Linked DNA regions of Homo sapiens: region 2 is linked to region 1. The links are contacts of gene promoters, found by promoter capture Hi-C in human tissues and cell types (Jung and others, 2019). All regions are on one chromosome and are shown on one strand. Each heading gives the region's core, a stretch centred on a gene start or on the middle of the fragment in contact. The rest is flanking DNA. Distances are from core to core; before and after follow the strand shown. Region 1 holds the start of C19orf81 (chromosome 19 open reading frame 81). Region 2 overlaps POLD1 (DNA polymerase delta 1, catalytic subunit).

Evidence for each region. Contacts are between HindIII fragments. The study calls those that stand out against the background at their distance.
Region 2: a fragment that was not itself captured here is called in contact with the fragment with the promoter of C19orf81 in region 1 in 2 of the 25 tissues and cell types used here (bladder and pancreas).

What each region holds. Positions count from the first base shown.
Region 1 is chr19:50,647,912-50,651,282 of GRCh38, reverse strand. It overlaps C19orf81 (chromosome 19 open reading frame 81), which reads right to left and starts at 1,838. Exons shown (of 5, transcript NM_001195076.2): 1 at 1,772-1,838. The coding sequence starts at 1,838. It also overlaps a transcript of SYT3 not described here. RefSeq lists an enhancer at 2,905-2,954. The HindIII fragment of the contact is 25,500 bases long and covers 1-3,371 here.
Region 2 is chr19:50,407,192-50,410,485 of GRCh38, reverse strand. POLD1 (DNA polymerase delta 1, catalytic subunit) reads right to left here. Exons shown (of 27, transcript NM_002691.4): 14 at 3,071-3,159; 15 at 1,585-1,701; 16 at 1,251-1,364; 17 at 820-967. Among named protein-coding and RNA genes, the nearest start is that of SPIB, 10 kb to the left of the region's middle. The HindIII fragment of the contact is 5,390 bases long and covers 1-3,294 here.

The DNA of each region.
Region 1 (3,371 bases), core at 589-3,088:
TTGAGCAAAAGAGAAGAGAGTCACCTGCAAGAACTTCCCAGAATTCCCTTGAGCCCCAAGACTAAAGAGCGCTTATTGCCATTGGAGGCTATGAATGATCTGTGAGATGGCGTGTTTCACGTCTCCTCTCCCAGCATGAGAACAAGCCAGGCCGTTTCATCCATTAGGCACTACAGGCAAAATGCTTGGGACCCAGGGGCTTTCTAATGGCCTATGCTGAAGTTTGCAACCTGATCAACTAAAAAATGTGATTGGTTCCACAACGCTGCAAAGAAAACAGCAAAATCGAAATGAACAAACGTCGATCAACAAAACTAGCCAACTGGTCGACTCAACTCCACTTGACTTTTCTGGAGCTACATATAAATTACATGTCACGTGGGTGCCTCAGTCTAGGCTAGAGATGGTGCATTGTGGGGTCTCCAAAAGAAAGATGCCTTCAAAAGCACTAAAAGAGACCTAAAGGCAGAGAAACAACGCCTGTTTTGCCATCAGGGCATTTGTTCGGCCTCGAAGGCTGAGGTGGGAGGATCACTTGAGCCAGGAGCTCAAGGCTGCAGTGAGTTTTGGTTTTGGGTGTTTTTGTTTGTTTGTTTGTTTGTTTTGTTTTTTGAGACAGAGTCTCCCTCCATCACCCAGGCTGGAGTGCAGTGGCACAATCTTGGCTCGCTGCAGCCTCTGCCTCCTGGGTTCAAGCGATTCTCCTGCCTCAGCCTCCCTAGTAACTGGGATTACAGGCACCCGGCACCACACCTGGCTAATTTTTGTATTTTTAGAGATGGGGTTTCACCATGTTGGCCAGGCTGGCTGGCCTTGAACTCCTGACCTCAGGTGATCCACTCACCTCGGCCTCCAAAGTGCTGGGATTATAGGCGTGAGCCACCACACCCAGTCCTGAGTTTGGTTTTCTATTACCTGCAGTTACATGCATCCTCACTGAGATACTACTCCATAAATGTTGAATGAGTGTAACTGCATGAGCTGTGCTACAGCACAGAGTGCTAGCAGGAAGTGCTGGGCTAGGAGCCTGAAGTTGTCAGCAGGGGTCAGACCACACAGGGCCTCAAAAGCCAGGCTGGAGCTTTGGGTCTCTGTCCTAGAGGTGACAGGAAGCTAGGAAGTGTTATGAGCAAGGGACAGCCAGGATCACTGCAGGAAGTCAGAGAGACCTCTCTGGAGCCATGGAGGGATAGGTAGGAGGAGAGAAACTGGGGACCAGGGAGGAGGTGAGGAGAGGGTCCACATGGAAGAGGATGAGACCTGGGACAGGGCTGCGGGGACAGAGAGGAAGGAATGGGGAAGGGAGAGTCAGAGGGCAGGAAGATAGGGCCTGATGGGCTGTGGGAGGGAATTGTGGGAGGTGGAAGGATGGCACCAGTGACTGGGTTGGCGGTGGGGCCATTTGAAAATGGAAACCAGGAAGGAGGAGAGCAGCTTTGGGGGAAGATGCTGAGCTCAGGGTGGGAGACAAGACAGTGAGGTTACCTAGGAGAAGAATGGCCTCAGAGGTGTTGCTTAGGCCCCAGAGGCTCATGGGAAATGTAGTTCTGAGTCCAGGGCATTGGCCAAGGAACTGCAGAGGCTCATGGGAAATGTAGTTTGAGGTCCAAGGGGGCCGCTCTCCAGGAATCTGGTGAATCCAGGAATGCTAGGGATGGCTTTCACTTTGGAGTGCCAGTGACTCGCTTAAGGCCACACTGTGAGCCCGGGCTACTACGCACTGCCTGGATGGAGGAAGTCCACCCCTTCCCCCAAAGACACAGCTCAGTACCTGCCTTCCTGTGCATGGTGGGGCTGCCCATGGCAGGGAAGCACACGGGCTCCACCTCTGGCTGCATCCTGGGAAGGTGGGTGAGGGATGTCTCAGGAAGGTGGCAAGAGAGGCTCTGCCTGGGCCACCCACCCCAGCTCCTTCTCCCCACCGCTGCCTCCTCTACCTCCTCTTTGAAGCCCCGGGGTAGAATTACAGAGGAACTGGAAGGCTGAGACCATGTGGAGATCTGGGTTCCCCTGACCTCAGGGACTCCCTGTGTGCCCCAATCCCTTCTTTCCCATTTCCCTGTTTTTCCTCCTATCTCTCTCTGTCTCCTAGAGTCCCTTTCCCCACCCCTCTCTCTCCACCTCCCTTCCTCATTCTCTCCCCATCTCTCTGCCCCCCTGCCTCCTCCCCTCTGTCCCCACGTCTCCACCACTCTTTTGCTTGATTTCTCTGCCCTCCTCCTCCCTCCTTCTCTCCTGGGCTCCATCTCTTCAGTCTCCATCAGTTTCCCCAGCATCTCCCCAGGCCCCCGTCCCTCCTTGTCTTCATCGTTTTCTGCCTCTCCCTAACCCCGTCACCCTCTCTCTGTCTTCCCACCTCTCACCAGTCTCCTTGCCCCATCTCTATCCTCTCCTAGCTGCCTCCACTGCCCCCTTGAGGCCCCCTCCCCTCTGTCATCCCCTTTCTGTTCCCACTTGCCCTCTGCTCATCCCTGCCCCAGCCAGGAACTGGTTAGAAACAGGCGAGATTCCAACGAAAGTGGGTTCTCTAGTGGGGAGGGGATGGTGGGCAGGGGGCCTGGTTGCCATGGTGCCTCCAGAGGGAGGGGGAGGGGTGGGGGCCTGGATTCCTGGGTCTGAGGGAGGAGGGCCTGGGGTCTGGACTCCTGGGTCTGAGGGAGGAGAGGATGGGGGCCTGGACTTCTGGGTCTGGGGTCTCACGGGGCCTCTCGTGCTAGAGAGAAGGGGTCTAGCCGTGTAGGTGCCTGTTCAGCATCCCTTTCTCTGGGTCTGCAGAGCTCTCTGCAGGAATTGTGGGAGAGGAAGCTGGACCTTCGCTTATTTGTTTTGTCTGTCCTTGCAGTCTTTGTCTCTGTTACTTGTATCTCTTTCTCTTCCTCTTTCTCCACATCCAGATGGTCTCTGGACTGTCTGTTGTTCCTGCTTACTAAGTATTCGTTCTAGGTGGTGGCACCTTGATTTCCTCAGTGATTTGTTCAGTGGCGAGCTTAAGAATCAATCTAGGCTACAAAGTCAACCTTTGGACTTTTGCTGGACCTGTTAGAAAACAGGGTTTTTCCCCTGTGGTTTTGGGGCTGGTCAGAGCCAGGGTTGGAGCTCTCGGTGCTACCACATCACCATGCAGGGAGATAACTTGCCTGAGAGCAAAGACAACACGAGGGAAGCATAGCCCAAAGATACAGACAGTTGGATTCCTGGAGATGATTGGAACACCTGGATCCAGCAATGCCTGAAGCCCTCATCCAATCAATAAACTTCCTTTTATGCTTAGGTCAATTTGATTTGCGTTTCCGTTATTAGCAATTAAAACAGTCCAGATTGAAATAGTCTTACTCAGTTCTGGGGGCCCTGACCCCCTCCTGGCATCTTCA
Region 2 (3,294 bases), core at 795-3,294, 240 kb after region 1:
GAACTGCGGGTGGGTGGGTGTGTGCAAAGGCCCCACCCACTGAGAATTCATCCAAGCCTTCCACCCAGAGCCCTGTGAAAAGTGGCGCAGTGCCCAGCCAGAGAGGGAGCTCCCCGTGGCTAGAGGTAACCAAGCAGAGCAGCACAACTACTGGCCTGGAATGGGCCAAGACTCAAGTCCCAGGGGAGAAGGCTGGACAGGAAGACCCTTCCGAGGCCCTCATATGCCAGGAGCTGGGGCACTGACCCCAGCTTGGCAATCTCGGAAACTCAGGCCCTCTGTGGTTTCAAAGAATCTGTTTTTCTGTTCAAGCAGCAGAGCTGCCGTGGGTAGGCAGACCGGGACGCTGCCGTGGGGACGGTGAATGGCTTCCCTCCCCACGTCCCTTGGCCTCTGTGTGAGCGTCGCCTATTGAGAGGGGTGAGTCCCGCCCAGCCCCATCACTCCCCGACAGTCCGCACCTCCTGCTTTATCCGGCTGCAAAGCTCGTAGCGCCACTTGTGTCCTAAACACGTTTACACAGACCTGTCAGTGTCCCCACTGGGCTGCAAGATGACAGGGACAGGAGCTCTCATCCATTTTGTTCCCCTCTGTATCCCCAGGGCACAGAGTGAGCCCTGACCACAGTGTGTGCTCAGTAGGCATTTGCTGAGTGAAGGAATGGACCAATTGCTCAAGCCACATTGGCATCCTCTCTCTAGAAGGCCAGTGAGTTGGGGTGCCCAGTCCTCTGGATACAGGTCCCCCACATGGAGCCCTGGTCTCCTACACAGGGGGCCCACCTGCCCCCAGTTGCCTTCCAGGGGCCCGAGTGCCCACCTGTGAGATCTCCAGGCACGGCAACTTGCCCACCTGGGCGCCAGTGAAGCCGTATACGGAGTTGGCGCTCACCTTCAGCGCCAGCTGCCGTCCATCCAGGACCTGGCGCCGGAGGGGGTCTGTCTCCTTGGCCAGCTCGGCCTTGGCCCTGCGAGGGAACACGGGGAAAGCACACTCAGGCGGCACCTGGGCATTGGTCAGGGCTCCTTTCTGGAAGTGAGTGCCATGTACGGTTGGGCGTACTGTGCACTGCACAGAAGCTTCTGGCCAAGGGGGCAAAAGGAAGCTGCCAGGAGGGGATGCCTTGTGCTAATTCACGCACAGCTGAGGGCAGGGTGGCTGGGCAGCCCTGGGGTGTCCCAGTGAGGGACAGGGATTGCCCAGAGGCCCCAACAGGTCTGAGCTCCAAGCAGGCGATCTCCAGGGCTCACCTCTTCCGGGCACTGAGCAGGTTCTCCAGGATCTGGGGCAGCAGCCCCTTCCGCACTGAGGTCTTCACAAACTCGTCCCCGGTGGGGGTCCTGATGAACTGATCCTCAGTCAGGCTGGGTTGGAAGATGTTGGGGTGACTGCCGGCCACCCTCCTGCTCCAGCCCACCTCTGCCCTACGGTCCTGGCCTTGGCCATGAGCACACGCAGGCCCCTCAAGCACCCCTCCACTCCCTACTATCTCTGGGCCTGTGCCTATGCCCCCCACCAGACTGAGCCCCCCAAGGGAAGGCCCAGATGGGCCTCGGGGGACACATGCTGAATTGGGCACTATACCCCAGTTTCTGTGCAGTCCCGGGCCGAAGGAGCGTGGTGTAACACAGGTTGTGGGCCATCATGATGGACGGGTACAGCGAGGAGAAGTCCAGGGTGGCGATGGGGACGTCGTAGTACCTGGGAGGGGAGCAGCCGCGGCCGGGAGTCAGGGCTAGGAGTTCCCATGCCGCCCCCGCCCTGTCTTGTGGCCTCACCCTTTAAAAAAAAAAAATCATTCATTGGCTGGGAGCAGTGCTCGCTCCTGCAATCCCAGCACATTGGGAGGCTGAGGCAGGAGGATCGCTTGAACTCAGGAGTTTCAGATCAGCCTGGGCAACATGGCAAAACCCTATCTCTACAAAAAAATTTTAAAAATTAGCCAGGTGTGGTGGTGCACGCCTGTGGTCCCAGCTACTCAGGGGCCTGAGGCAGGAGGATTGCTTGAGCCTAGGAGGTGGAGTAAGCCAAGATCATGCCACCGCACTCCACCCTGGGTGACAGAGTGAGACCCTGTGTCAAAAAAAGAAAAAGAAAAAGAAAAATAATATATATAATTAATCTACTATTTTATTTTATTTTATTTTTTTTGAGACGGAGTCTCGCTTTGTCACCCAGGCTGGAGTGCAGTGGCGCAATCTCAGCTCACTGCAACCTCCACCTCCCGGGTTCAAGCGATTCTTCTGCCTCAGCCTCCCGAGTAGCTGGCACTGCAGGCGCCCGCCACCATGCCCAGCTAATTTCTGTATTTTTAGTAGAGACGGGGTTTCACCGTGTTAGCCAGGATGGTCCCAATCTCCTGAACTTGTGATCCGCCTGCCTTGACCTCCCAAAGTGCTGGGATTGATTACAGGGGTGAGCCACCGTGCCTGGCCTATTAATTTATTTTAGGGCCGGGGTGTTGCTCTGTCGCCCAGGCTGGAGGGCAGTGGCGCAATCATCGCTCACTGCAGCCTCCACCTCCTGGGCTCATCATCCTCCCAGCTCAGCCTCCCAAGTAGCTGGGATTACAGGCATGCACCACCACGCCTGGCTAATTTTTAAAAATTTTTTCGGCCGGGCACGGTGGCTCACGCCTATAATCCCAGCACTTTGGGAGGCCGAGGCAGGTGGATCACGAGGTCAGATCGAGACCATCCTGGCTAACACGGTGAAACCCCGTCCCTACTAAAAATGCAAAAAAAAAAAAAAAAAAAAAAATTAGCCAGGCGTGGTGGTGGGCGCCTGTAGTCCCAGCTGCTGTGGAGACTGAGGTAGGAGAATGGCGTGAACCCGGGAGGCAAAGCTTGCAGTGAGCTGAGATTGCGCCACTGCACTCCAGCCTGGGTGACAGAGCGAGACTCTGTCTCAAAAAAATAAAAATAAAAATAAATAAAAATAAAAAAATTTTGTGGAGCAGGGGCCTCGCTATGTTGCCCTGGCTGGTCTCAAACTCCTGAGCTCAAGTGATCCTCCCACCTCAGCCTCCCAGAGATTACAGGTAAAAACTGCACCCAGCCTGGGGCCTCACCCTTTGAGGGGCTCGATGACAGTGGCTCCCGTGTAGTCCTCGCCGCCCTCTGACTTCACCACGGGCATCAGCAGCCCCTCGTGCATGGCCTGGGAGGGGAGAAGGTGGGAAATGGAGTGGGTATAGGTGGGGCCGTGCGGATTGGGAGTGGGGAGAAAAAGTGCATCCAGGATGCCATTGCCTGGAGGGGGCCACAGACGTGCCTGGTGGGGGGTGGCGAGGAC